Linked DNA regions of Homo sapiens: region 2 is linked to region 1. Evidence: promoter capture Hi-C in 16 types of primary human blood cells and fetal thymus (Javierre and others, 2016). All regions are on one chromosome and are shown on one strand. Each heading gives the region's core, a stretch centred on a gene start or on the middle of the fragment in contact. The rest is flanking DNA. Distances are from core to core; before and after follow the strand shown. Region 1 holds the start of ANKDD1B (ankyrin repeat and death domain containing 1B). Region 2 overlaps HMGCR (3-hydroxy-3-methylglutaryl-CoA reductase).

Evidence for each region. Contacts are between HindIII fragments. The CHiCAGO score rates a contact against its expected background, and 5 or more counts as called.
Region 2: a fragment that was not itself captured here is called in contact with the fragment with the promoter of ANKDD1B in region 1 in 1 of 17 cell types (endothelial precursors); the score reaches 5.1 in endothelial precursors.

Annotation. Positions count from the first base shown.
Region 1 is chr5:75,608,816-75,616,093 of GRCh38, reverse strand. It overlaps ANKDD1B (ankyrin repeat and death domain containing 1B), which reads right to left and starts at 4,641. Exons shown (of 14, transcript NM_001276713.2): 1 at 4,267-4,641. The coding sequence starts at 4,459. It overlaps POLK (DNA polymerase kappa), which reads right to left. Exons shown (of 15, transcript NM_016218.6): 15 at 6,103-7,278. RefSeq lists enhancers at 3,534-4,340, 4,341-5,147, 5,148-5,955. The HindIII fragment of the contact is 4,897 bases long and covers 2,316-7,212 here.
Region 2 is chr5:75,346,458-75,353,926 of GRCh38, reverse strand. HMGCR (3-hydroxy-3-methylglutaryl-CoA reductase) reads right to left here. Exons shown (of 20, transcript NM_000859.3): 6 at 6,618-6,723; 7 at 3,779-3,885; 8 at 3,553-3,669; 9 at 2,978-3,138; 10 at 2,612-2,859; 11 at 2,325-2,503. Among named protein-coding and RNA genes, the nearest start is that of HMGCR, 13 kb to the right of the region's middle. The HindIII fragment of the contact is 1,380 bases long and covers 1,893-3,272 here.

The sequences.
Region 1 (7,278 bases), core at 3,392-5,891:
GTCAATAACATACCATCTCCAAACAGAAAGGACCGTAAGAGAGGTTTCTGTAGATGTGTTGTGGATTAGTTTCCTAAGGGTTTCCTTGTTTTTTAAATGGTACCATCATAACATTCAATGTTCCCCAAGTTTTTGCCGAAGCAAAGACCTTTCAGGATACTGCCAAGTCCAATCAAGGACCAACCAAGGAGTATCTTCTTGGGAAATATTGTTATGGGCTGAATTGTGTCCCTCCAAAATTCCTATGTTGAAGTCCTAACCCCAAGTACCTCAGAATGTTGACTATATTTGGAGATAGGGCCTTTAAAGAGGTAATTAAGGTAAAATGAGGTCATATAAATGGGCTCCAATCTGATAATGATTGGTGTCCCTATAAGAAGAGAGATTAGGACACACACACACACACACACACACACACACACACAGGGAAGACCAGGTGAAGGCAGGGAGAAGGTGGCCATCTATAAGCCAAGGAGAGAGGCCTAAGAAGAATTGAACTTTTCCAACATCTTGATGTTGGACTTGTAGCCTCCAGAACTGTGAGAAAATAATTGTCTGTGGTTTGAGCCATCCAGTCTGCTGTACTTTGTCGTGGCAGCCTGAGTAGACTCATGCAGATTCACATGTTCATTCTTTCTATTACCTGGATCCTTCTCTTCGTTCCTACCCCTACTCTTGTCACCATTCTAGGTGACTTCAACCTCCTCACAGATGATTAATCCAACACCTTGGCCTCTTAGTTCCCTGACTCTGTCACCTCTAATAATCTTCCCCAGATCTGACCTTAGCCATCAAATTTCAGAGACACATTCCTGAACTAATCATCCCTCAAACTGCACTACCTCTGAAATCTTGACTTCCAGAATCCTATTCTTTGACCACAACTTCTCATCCATTCAGCTCAGCTGCTCTAGTTCTCCAAGTCCAGAAATTCTGCAACCTTATGAAGTCCTCCAGTCCACAGTTCTAGCCCTTTTTCATATTCTTCATCTCTATGTCCTTACTTCCCTCCTTACCATGTTTAGATTCCATGGTGCCAGTCTGTTTTTGCTGCCATAACAAAATACCTGACACTAAGTAATTTTAAAAAAACAGAAATTTATTTTGCACATTCAGACCATAGCACATGGTCCACCTATGAAATCACTTCTATGCAAACACTTACCTCCCTCACCATTCTTTTCCTCCATTAGACTAGTTGGTCAGAATCCTAATTCTGAGATTAAATCCAACTGCTACTTGCTTTGTTTCTGTACCTGAACAGCTAAATGGTACTGGAGAAAAACACACAGCCATACTGTAGTAGACATTGCTAGTGTTCATCAATATCTGCTTCTTCTCTTCTACCTGGTCACATGTGTAAGCCCATAACCCAGCCTGGATAGTTGAGGTGTATCCAATGGACTGAAAGCACAAGTGATGGCATGTCACTTTGGGGCTGAGTCAGTGAAAAGCCTGTGTCACCCTCTAGGTCTCTTTTCCCTGCCTTATCAACACTGGAAGCCATGTGTTTAAATGAAGGGGTTACAAGATGGTGGTACCTCCATCAACTTGGTATTGGGACACAATTCTCCCTGGGTCTCTCACATTTCTGCACATCTTACAAGCAAAAGCACTGACTGGCTTTGCTCTTTACTACCTTTTCAAGGATGTTTGTATAGTGAAAAGCCTTGACAGACAGAGATAATATCTTCCTCTGGAGCAAAGGGCAGGTTTGCTTGCAGCCTTGGAAGAAAGCAATGGTAAGGCATGCTTACTGACTATTACAAAAGATTTGGGTTCCCTAAGCGCAGGATTTTTCTGTAACACAACCCACTGTGTGTGCAGGTGTCATTTGGCATCTTTATATCTCCCTGTGGGAATTGGGGCTTGGAGAACTGACACAAATGCTAACACTCTGGCTACTGCTACTGCTATGAGTAATGAAATTCATCAACTCTGATCCAGAAGTGTCTTCTGCCAGCATCTCTATCACCTAGCAAGCTAACTTGTGAGATTACAAGTAGGGTAAAATCTCAACCCCTTTATGATCCTTGACACCTGGGTTCCTGAGAGACTAAGAAGATGAGAGACCCTCGCCAACTTATTTTGGACATGCTACACGAACAAGAAATATATCTTTCTTTTAAATGTAAAGACAGGGTCTCGTTACGTGGTCCAGGCTGGTCTTGAATTCCTGGTCTCAAGTGATCCTCTCACCTGGCCTCCCAAAATGCTGGGATTATAGGTGTGAGCCACCACACCCAGTCAGAAATAGATCGTTTTTAAGTCCAGTCACTCAGATGTAGGAGTCATTTATTGCTGCAGGAAAAGCTTACTTTGTCCTGACTGATACACATGCTAACAGGTCTCTTAAATTCTTCCCCACTAATCTCAGCACGACTAGCTAGCCTCTACATTTCCCTAGTCTTCCCTTCTTCAACATGTCATATCCTTTCCTTTCTCCTCAAATATCTGAATTTACTAATCTACGTAATTTACTTCCTCCCACTACCATCACCTAATTCTCAGTTAATACCGTTGCCTCATAGTGAAAACAGAAGTAATAGGACACGAATTCCCACATCTTCCCACCTAGGTGAGTCTACCAACCTACCTTCATTTATATATGCAGGATGAAGCATCCCTGTACCTAGGAAAGGCCAACCTCTACACTTGGGCTCTGGATCCCATCCCCTTTTATCTTTTCAAGTGTTTCATATGTCAATCTCCTGGAAATTATCTCTTCTTTCCTCTAGATCACTTAATCTCTCTCCAGTGGATCACTCCCCTCAAAAAATACTGAGATGCCATAATACCCTATGCATAAAAAACCCTCCCTTGACCCCAGCTTCCTTTCCAACTGCTGCTGCATTTTTCAACTTTCCATTACCCCAAACTTAAGTATTCTATAATTGCTGTCTCCATTTCTTCATCTCACAGTCTTGTCTCAACCCATGCTAATCAGACATCTTTCCCACCCCTCTACTGAAACTGCTCTTGTTGAGGTCACTCCGCCTTGCCAAAACCCAGTCATCATACCTCCGTCATGTGCATTGAGCTCTTGGCAACTTTGACACAGAGGAACACACACTCCATGTAACATGTTCTTCTCTAGAGGTCTGGTAAACCAACTTTCGCTTTCTAGTCTTTTCTACTGGCTCTTTTTCCTTTGCTTGATCTCCAACTATTAGAATGCCCTAGGGTTTATATAAAACAAATAATCTGTTGATGTAGGCATGATTCCTCCATTTTACAGATGAGGAAACTGAGATCTTCAAAAGTTATACCACTTGCTCATGCTTTGTAAGTTATAGAATTGTCCCAGGCAGCCTGACTCCAACCACATTACCCTGTCTCATGGCCTTCACTGCACTTACCTTAAATTATCTTATTCATTTATTTGCGTACTTATTTTATTGTCTATCACCCCTCCACCACAACAGAATGTTCCACCAGAACAGGGGTTGTCTTGTTCTCTCCAACCCTACATCTAGAACATGCCTAGCAAATAGTTAAGCCCTTGAAAATAGTTCTAGAATGACTGAATGAACACTATATTGATGAATTGGTGTATAGCTTCCAAGCCTGGTTTAGGAAATAAGGCCGTCCCAGCCAGTAGGCTTGGATGGTGTGCCCCGTTAAGAGGCTTGAGTACTGGGAAGGCTGAGGTGGGAGGATCACCTGAGCCTGAGGAGGTCTGTGATTGCACTACTGCCTTCCAGCCTGTGCAACAGAGCAACAAGACCCTACACGCGGGGCGGAGGGCGGGGGCGGGGCGGAGGGCGGGGGGGGGCGGGGGCAGACTTAAATCGCTTTCAGCTTTCGAACTGCTTAACAGCTGCCTCAGTTTATGCTACACATTATTCCCAAGGCATAGATGATCCACTCCATGCTTTAAAAACTTAAGTGCAGAAAGATTAAGTGACTGACTTATTTAAAGTCAGACAATAAATCGGAGCATGAGTCACGATATAGGAGATAAGAGCACATGAAACTCTTATTTGCAAAAGGACTTAATCATTATTTTTAAAAGCCTCCTCCTTAATTCGGAAGAATAATACTGTCCTTCCACCCACAGTACATGGTGGGGGTGGATTCCAAAGCTGAAAACCAGCCAACAGGGAGTGCAGCGGTGCAGGCTGGGACTCGGGGTCCCAGGGCTGAGTCGCCTCGCCAGTTTCCCTCCTGCAGCGTCCGGAGGTGCTGCTCTGGGTACCTTCTCAAGTCCCTTCGACCCAGCCCGCCCCGCAGCCTGATTTTCTGAGACCTCGTCCCGGGACTCACGGAGCTCGTGTCCGGCAACTGCTGTGTCCTCCTCTCCAAGACCCTCCCGCTTCGGGATCCGGGACAGGCTCCTCCAAGGCAGGGCGGCCGCGCCCCACAGGTCTTCCCTGAGACCCTTGGCGGCCGCAGCAGCCCGGAGCAGCAGCCCCCCTGCCGTGGCCCCTTGGCCCCGGGCGCGCCCGGCGGGGTCCATAGTCTCCTCCGCGGGCCCTGAGCGCAGGGCCAGACCCAGACTCGGACCCAGATCCAGACCCAGACTCGGACACAGATCCAGACCCAGGCAGGCCCAGGGCGCGGGGGCTGGACGCAGGCAGGTCAGCCCGGCCGGAGCGCAGGATCGAGTCCGCTCTCTGTTGTGGCGGTTCGCTGGGCAACAAGCCCCTAGTTTCCAGCCCTGCCCTGACTTGGGCTGGCCTGGGATAATCCGCCCTCAGGTGTGGCGTGCACAGTGCTAAGGTTTGGTTCTCTGGAAAATAAAACATCCAGCGACCATCGAGAACGGGCCATGATGACAATGGCGGTTTTGTCGAATAGAAAAGGGGGAAATGTGGGGAAAAGAGAGAGAGATCAGATTGTTACCGTGTCTGTGTAGAAAGAAGTAGAAATAGGAGACTCCATATTGTTCTGTACTAAGAAAAATTCTTCCGCCTTGGGATGCTGTTAATCTATAACCTTACCCCCAACCCCGTTCTCTCTGCAACATGTGCTGTGTCAACTCAGGGTTAAGTGGATTAAGGGCGCTGCAAGATGTGCTTTGTTAAACAGATGCTTGAAGGCAGCATGCTCGTTAAGTCATCACCACTCCCTAATCTCAAGTACCCAGGGACACAAACACTGCGGAAGGCCGCAGGGACCTCTGCCTAGGAAAACCAGAGACCTTTGTTCACGTGTTTATCTGCTGATCTTCTCTCCACTATTATCCTATGACCCTGCCACATCCCCCTCTCCGAGAAACACCCAAGAATGATCAATAAATACTAAAAAAAAAAAAAAAAAGAATAAGCAGAGAAATTGGGGAGGGTATTCAAAGCTGAACAACTAATGGTCCAAGGATATCACTATCACTATCATTAACACATGCTTTAGTCACCAGGAACTGCCAATTTTACTTCTCAAATCTCTTAATTACATCTGCTTCTCCATTTTTATTTCCATTGCCATCATTGCTTGTCACTGAATTTATTGTAATAACTTCTTCATAAGAATTTATTGTAATACCTTCTTCATAAGAATTTGTTGTTAGATGGATTTATTGTCTGTTGCTACATTTCAGGCACAGAATTAAGCACCTTTTGCACAGCCTCACTTAATTCTGAGGTATGGTGTATTCTATTATTAGCCCCGTTTGATAGAAAAGGATTCTGAGGCTTGAAGACGTTGGTGGAAGAAACAGAACTTGCCCCTAACGAGCATGACTTCTAAGAATGTGTTGTCAAGGGCGTGACTCACTCACCTTGCTCTACAGCAGGGGGTCACTTTGCTCCATCCCCAGGCCAAATCCCGCTGCTGCCTGTTATTGTAAATAAAATTTGTTTTAACACATTAAAAAAAAAAATTCCTGCAAAATCTACAAGCCCCAATGAACTCCCAGCTCTACTCTACCACTTCTTTGTATAATTTTGAGAAATGTCAAGGTTGAATTTATAACTAACACTATAGGAACTTCAATATTAAATCATTTCTAAATGGGCTTCCAACATTTTCTTTTGAATAAAGTAAGACTTGATTTCTCATTTGAAGACCATGAATTTTAATCTTTCCTGGCGGATTCTTTTGAAAAGTGAAATAATACAGAAGCAAGTCAAATTCTGACCCCCCAAATAAACTTCAAATAAGAAAGGTAATCAGGTTTTCATTTATTTATTCTTCTTACAAATTTACAAAAGATGTATCATTTTAATGTAAATTATGTAATATCAATGTTCATTTCAAACTTGTCAGTTTTTCCCTTCAAATTATTGTGCACCAAATTTGAGGCATTAAATTCAAAACAATGTTTCCTAATCAATGAAAAAACAAACATGACAAAATATTATTTATTTTATCAGAACACCGCCCATAACCTCAAACTTTCCTCTTTTAAAAAAGGGAAATGGGCCTAATGTTTGTAATAGAGATATGATAAAAACAATAGCAGGTAAGTTGAATTGAGTATTATGCAGAAATATCAGACAATGTACTAATATGGAAAGTATAATATGTAAATGGAAAAACAGGGCACCAAATTATATGTATATGTAGCATGTTTACAAGTAAAATTCTAAAAATCAAAAGAAAATACCCACACAAAAGAAGGAATAATAGTGAAAACAGCAGCAGATCAATGGAAAGCATACAGCCAAGTACAGAAAAATCTCCCAGTCTGGGTAACAAAGTGAGACCCCCTCTCTACAAAAATTAGCCAGGCATGGTGGTGCATGCCTGTAGTCCCAGCTACTTGGGAGGCTGAGGTGGGAGGATGGCTTCAGCCTGGGAGGCAGAGGTTGCAATGAGCCAAGATTGTGCCACTGTGTGCCAGTCTGCGTGATAGAGCCAGACCCTATCTCAAAAAAAAAATTTTTTTTTAATATAAATAAAAAATAATTTTAAAAAAAGATCTGAATTGTGTTATCCAAGTTTGAAACTGCTTTCAAATTCTAAACCAAGAAATTTACTTTTAAAAAAATCCTCTTATCAATGACAGGAGAAAATGCATCATCATTTTATGCTATATAGCCTTATAATAGTATGTGGTACTTATCTTACTCTAACAGATGAGACAAAAACTCCAAAGCAGTGCATTATGTGAAACTTAGCCATAGCTGGACTTTATTTCCCTGACAGCTTGGGCTAAATAAGAAGCTATGAAGTATACTGTGGGAGGTATTTTCTTTTTCACTCTGTTTCAAATATCAGGTTAGTTCTCAAGCAGAATATTAATTCTAAGCGTGCTAATACATAAAAGCTTGCCCACATGATCTGGCCCTACTCATCTCTCTGATCTTGGGCCCTACAATTCTTCTCCATTCTTCA
Region 2 (7,469 bases), core at 1,333-3,832, 260 kb after region 1:
GGTATATATTCACACAAGTGTTGGGCCAAAGGGTATGAACATTTACAATCTTATAAATTTTTATAATTTTTACAAATTTATTAATTTGAATAAACACGGTCCAATTGCCTTCTCACCACCAATGTAAGAAAAGACCTTTCCAGCCTGGGGGCAGTGGCTCACGCCTATAATCCCAGCACTTTGGGAGGCCAAGGCGGGCGGATCACCTGAGGTCCGGAGTTTGAGACCAGCCTGACAAACATGGAGAAACCCCGTCTCTACTAAAAATACAAAATTAGCCAGGAATGGTGGCGCATGCCTGTAATCCCAGCTACTTGGGAGGCTGAGGCAGGAGAATCAATTGAACCCAGGAGGCAGAGGTTGCGGTGAGCCAAGATCATGCCATTGCACTCCAGCCTGGGCAACAATAGCAAAACTCCTTCTCAAAAAAAAAAAAACCAAACCAAAAAAAAACCCAAAAAAACAAGAAAAGACCTTTCCCTACAACCTCAATAGAGTATGTTATTAAACTTTGGGATTATTGCCAATCTGATGAGTGAAAATATCTCAAGTACAATTTTAATTTGCATTTCTCTTAGGATGAAGTTAATCACCTTTTCACATTTTTAAGAGCCATATGTACTTTTTTCCTGACAATAGACTGATTATCTGCTCTTTTTAAAAATTAGATAAAAATTTAGTCTCATCAATTTGTAGGAGCTCTTTATATATTAGAGATTAGCCCTTTAGCCTTAAATATAAATTGCCAATATTTTCTCTTGGTTTATTAGCTGTCTCTTGACTCTGCTTGTGGTGGTGATATACATACATACACATACACACACACACACTCACAATCACCACCCTCCACAAAACTGGTACCAGTAATTCCATTTTGTGGGTTTATTCAAGGATCTTCTTTGCAAACACTAATATTAGCCTAATTTTTCAAAAGAATAGTAAGATAAACATTAGCTGGTTTATGTATTATCAATGCAAATTCATTCATTCTCTTAGTAAGTTTACTGAGCACCTATGAAATCCAAGGCCCTCTCAAGACATGGACTTAGCCATCTAAGAGCCCGATGTCTAATAATGGAGATATTCATGTAAATGTGATATAAGCAACAAGGTACGACTGCCATTAAAAATGCACAGTCTCTATATAATGGATGCTTCAGAAAAGAAAGGTTACTTCTGTTTGGCGGAATTGAGGTAGGTTTCATAGAGATGCTAGCATTTGCCCTAAAGGTGTGAACACCTGGAGAGGGGGAGACATGTCAGATGACAAGAATAGGAACCCAGAGTTGGGAACTGTATTTAAAGAACAATGACTAAGTTTAGCTAAAAAGCATATGATTGAAGAATGCAGGCCGGGCATGCAGTGGCTCATACCTGTAATCCCAGCACTTTGGGAGGCCAAGGCAGGCAGACCACTTGAGGCCAGGAGTTTGAGACCAGCCTGGCCAACATAGTGAAATCCCATCTCTGCTAAAAACACAAAAATTAGCCAGACATGGTGGCGCATGCCTGTAATCCCAGCTACTCGGGAGGCTGATACACAAGAATCGCTTGAACCTGGGAGGTGGAGGTTGCTGTGAGCCAAGATGGTGCCACTGTACTCCAGCCTGGGTGACAGAGTGACACTCTGTCTCCAAAACAATAATAATAATAATAATAATAATAATAATAAAATAAAATTTTGTCAAGTATACCTCAATAAAGCTGGCAAAAAATTGCATTTTACCAATAAACGTATTAACATATATTTAAAAGAAAGAACCATATTAAGCAGACATGGATGGAACATGATTATTTGCATGAAAGCATGAGTAGATTCATATGGTCATGTAGGCAGAAGGTCCTGTTCAAATGTCAGAAAGAAAAGCAAACTTCCTCATGGGTATCAAGCTTACAAAACAAAACAAAAACAAACTTTCTTCTATCTTTGAAACTTGTCTCTGTGTTAAACTCTTTCTAGGCCTCAACACACCTATGAGAATACAGTAGTCACTCATCTCTATGATAAACAGTAATAAACTAGAAAGAGTTTTGACTCTGGAGTCAGAAAATCTTGGACCCTGCTATCAGCTTTATCATTTCCTAGAGGTACTACTTTGGGAAATTAAACATATTGGAGCCTCAATGTTCTCATCTGAAAAATAGATAATTGTACCTACCTCTCAAGGTTGTGTGAAATAAAGAAAGAAGATAGTATCTGTTAGTCATGTTACACCGTGCCCAGAACTTAGCTGTAGTGTTCAGCAGATACTAGATTTTTCTTCCTTGAAAAAGCTCCTTTGTAATGAAAAATGCCACATTGGAGTTTATGTTATCATCCTCACCTCTGCATTCCCAAGTATCTGTAGACATTCTTCATTAGGCCGAGGTTCCCTGGGAAGTTCAATTTCAGGTTCCTGTGTCACCAGTACTGATGAAGTATCGAGTAAGGAGGAGTTACCAACCACAAATGTAGCTCTGTTTGGGGTATCTGTTTCAGCCACTAAGGGTTTTATAACCTCAACTGTTCAAGAAATCAAAAGAAATCTCACAACACGGCACATAATTTTGAAAACAGACTACTTTTTGACAAAGCAATGAAGGATTGAAAGCGAAGAGAATAACAAGTTACCTTTTCTTTCTCGGTTTATCCCTGTCTCTTCCTCTACTGAATCACATTTCTGGTTATTTCTGACCAGCATAGGTTCACGTCTACAACAATTGTCTGGGACTTTCTTTTGTGTCACTACAGGAGATGTGATAGGGTTTTTTAATGAGAGTGTAGATTCTGTCTCTGTTTGTTCAAAGAAGATGTACTTGACAGCCAGAAGGAGAGCTAAACTTAGGGTAATAACTTGTTCAATATCCATGCTGATCATTCTAAATAAAAGAAAGCAAATTAAAATCTTATTCAGAAATGTAAAGGACACAATCTAAACTTACATTAGCATAGAGTGTTATGATTAATATATCACAAAGTAGATTTCAATTAACTTACTTAGAGAGATAAAACTGCCAGAGGGAAACACTTGGTTCAATTCTCTTGGACACATTTTCATCCAGTCCTAATGAAACCTTAGAAGTATCTGCTGTACTGTTTTGAGGAGAAGGATCAGCTATCCAGCGACTGTGAGCATGAACAAGAACCAAGCCTAGAGACTGAAATAAAATTTTTAAAGTAATGTATCCTCTGCATATCAATAGAACTTAAATTTCTTATCCCTAGCAACTGGACAGCCAGACATTATCTCTCATAGCTTCCCCTTACCATGAAAAAAAAAAAGCCCCAAGCTTGCTATGCAACTAACTAAAGTAGTGACCCCACTGAACTACTGAAAACACCCCAAAGAACAGGCTTTCAACGAGAGATAAGGTGGGGGAACTTAAAAAGTCTGTTTAGGAGAGAGGGGCTAATAAAGACCAGGAGCCTCAAAGAAATGAACACATTAAGAAAAAAAGGAAGAAGGGGGTGCAATATCATTGAATGGGCCAAAATTGTAGAAAAAAAGAAATCTTAAAAATAATGAGATTGGAACTGAGGATACTAAAAGAAGAAGAAAACCATGTCATTACCATAATCATCTTGACCCTCTGAGTTACAGGATTCGGCTTATTTTCTTCTTCTTCTAAAACTCGGGCAAAATGGCTGAGCTGCCAAATTGGACGACCCTCGCGGCTTTCCCGAGAAAGCTACAAATTAAGTCAGTGTGACATTAGAAGGTATTGATTCTGTTTAGGTAAACTGTGTAAGCAGAAATCTTACTCTTCTACTAGTGCCATATGTAAGAATTGGTCTTACCTCTAATACCAAGGACACACAAGCTGGGAAGAAAGTCATGAACACGAAGTAGTTGGCAAGAACTGACATGCAGCCAAAGCAGCACATAATTTCAAGCTGACGTACCCCTGGTTAGAGAAAAATTAAAGATACAACTAGTAAAGTCTACGTTATTTTTTATGCTGCATATATCACAAGGATATATTTGTCTTCCTGCAGGTGGACAAAACATGAAAATATTAGTACATTAAGCTCCTTGCCACTTACTGGAAATAGAATTAGCAACTTAGAGGTGATGCCAAGCCTTAGGAAACAGCAGGAATAACAACAGAACTCTAAGTCCCTCAAGAGCAAAGCTCTTGCCTTCTCTCATGTCCCCATATCACAATGCCAGGCAGAATGGTAGTGTTTAATACACAATTGATAAAACATATGTGTTTCCAATTCCTTTTTGTCAAGCAGTAGTGCCTTATTATTAAATAAGGAGAGGACAGGCTACTCTAACAGAGCAAAACCCCAGTGACACTATTGATCTAATCCCACTTGTTAGGAGAAAAGCAATTTGCCAATTAACCAAGGATTTTTTATATAAGTAGAATATCCTGCCAGTTATGCCAGTCCTGATATAAGGTCAAAATAATATTTTTTGTGTACCAACAAACTCTAATTTCAATATAACCTCTATGATGCCTACTGAAGTTCTTATAATTTTGGTTATTTCATTGATCTGTTTGGAAAATGATATAATACAAAATGCCAACTTAAGACTAAAAATTAACAAACATATTGTACTACAACTGTTTAAGGTATCATTTGGTGATCTCAAATAGAAAACAGAATTATAGAGGCTAGAAGAGACCTTAGATGACCACCAAATCCTTCTCCCTCACTTTACAAATAAACTTGAGTATAATATAAAACATATTTCTGATGTCGCTCAAACATAACAATGCTTTGAAACACAAATTTGAATTGTCCTATAAAAACTGCTCACAAAAACTCAAAGTTTTATTTTATTACCTACATTTTAAGATATAATTTGACTGACTAGAACAAGCATATATTGTATTTTTTTAATTCCCAATGCTTTGAAACATAAATTTAAATTGTCCTATAAAAACTGCTCACAAAAACTCAAAGTTGTATTTTATTACCTAAATTTTAAGATATCATTTGACTGACTAGAACAAGCATATATTGTATTTTTTTAATTCCACGATTACCCTCAAATGTGGAAATTCAAGAGACTACAAAATCACAATAACAAAAGCATTATAAATCAAACTACATTTTAAATAGTAGCTGAATATAATCTTTTCAAACTTGAGGCCATTAAAACCATACTTGACCAATGCTTTCATGACTTGACTATCTACTATTTCTCTCTGCACAATATTCACTCATGTTGTTGCCATATGCTCTCCAGGCATTCTTCCTTACTGTGTCCCCAGATAAGTCTCTCTACACACAAAGAAACAGCACCAATCCACAGACATCCAAGAAGCTAAGACTTTCTTCTTTTTGTACTGGCTTTTTCAAAGGGTTACTTCCAAGTTAATATGTGTTAAATCTGTCCTTTTTTACCGTAACCCAAATCTCTAATTATACCATTTCTGTATAGCTGTAAATGTCTCACTGTCTTCTCCAACCACAAATCTAATCACTTCCTTTGTCTACTTCTCTGACCATATCATGACAAAACTCATCGCCCAGCTGCTTTCCACATCATTATTATTTCAATGAATAATCCCATGGTTTCATGGCCCAACTATTACTTCCTGGCGAATCCCCTTCTCATATATTCTTTTGCTTGAATAAAATCAAACAAGTACATTTTCACCTGATCAACATTTTTTCTTGAGTGTAGTGGTGGTTACAAGACTATGTCATTGTCAAAACTCATAAAATTGTACTCCCAAAAGTAAATTTTAAAGTAAGTAAATTTTTAAAATTAAAAAATATTTTATTTGCTAAATAAAATCTTTGTTGAATAAAATAAATAAATAATAATTTGCTCTCAGAAAGTTAGAAGCAATATTACATTTTTAATATACTATCTACTGAAGAGGCCTAAACTAATGACAATAATTTACCCCCTTAAAAGTTAGATAATTTACTTCTGAAAGAATGAGGCATCTCATTGAGGGCTCTAAGGTACCAGGAAATACACAGTAGTTAACCAAGTATGGTCTTTATAAGAAAGCCATAAAATATAATCCTAATGATTAGGAGACCTTCACACAGCGTAATATATTCCTTCTGGCAAATTTCCATGCCAGTCTGTAATTTTTATTCTACATAATGAAGTCCTATGTTTGATATTAATATCTAATTCTCTACTATCCAATTAAGAATGAAGAAACATGTGTTGAAGCTAATGCTGGGTACTTGCTGAGATGTACTGCTTACTATCGGATTAAATATTTCCAATCACCTTATTAGGTGAATCTTACTCAGATCTGTCCAATTCCTGACTCTTTTCTCCCTACATGATAATTAAAACACAAAGAACCAAGTCACCAATTGAGTCTAAGTAACAGCAGGGGCTGGAAAGTGTTTTCCAGACCAACCTTGGAATGCAATGTTGGTTAAAAAAACAAACAAAAGAAATCAAATGAATAAAAATATCACAAAGTGGAACACAAAGAGAGGATGGCAGGAGTGAAAAATAAATCAGTAACCTGCTGCTAAGTTTCCACCAAAGCAAACAGGCCAGATATACCCACACACTAATATAATAAAAAATTTTAAGAGTAATTTAAAAGTCAGAATTTAACAATAAATAATACAAATCCAAGATGTTCTTTTTCCTCTTTAGCGACATACCTATTTTAAAATATGGCAAAAATTGCTTACAAACCTGACATGGTACCAACTCCAATCACAAGACATTCAACAAGAGCATCGAGGGTAAACGTAGGACCTAAAATTGCCATTCCACGAGCAATATTTTCCCTTACTTCATCCTAAAACAGATCAAACATATCAATGAAGGCAAGGGACAGAACAACTTTTTTAAATGTTAGAGCATCCTATGGCTTATATTAATATCAAATTACTATTCAAAGAGTAAAATATACAATATGATAAAACTAACAGGTATTCAAGATACAAAGTATGATTGTAATATAAAGGATTTTAAAAAATTTTTTTTTGAGATGTAGTCTCACTTTGTTTCCCAGGCTGGAGTGCAATGTGCAATGGTGTGATCTTGGTTCACTGCAACCTCTGCCTCCTGGGTTCAAGCAATTCTCCTGCCTCAGCCTCCCGAGTAGCTGGGATTACAGGCACCCGCCACCATGCCCAGCTAATTTTTGTATTTTTAGTAGAGACTGGGTTTCACCAGGTTGGCCAGGCTGGTCTGGAGCTCCTGACCTCAGGTGATCTGCCCACCTCGGCCTCCCGAAGTGCTGGAATTACAGGTGTGAGCCACTGCGCCCAGCCAAATTTTTAAAAAAGAACATATAGTGCCCTGATTCCCTTTCCACTGAATAAGATATTTGTTAGGAATATTCCTTTGAGGTAGTGCATTAACTCTGTCATTTAAATCACACATAATTAAATCCTACAACATTCTATATTTTTACCTACCATGACAGAAGCTTAGTTGCAAATTTTATGAGATCATATTAGTATTAATAAAACCAAACTTATTTCCTTGTTAATATGTTCAAATGATCACACACTTTCATCAACAAATAATCAGGGCAGA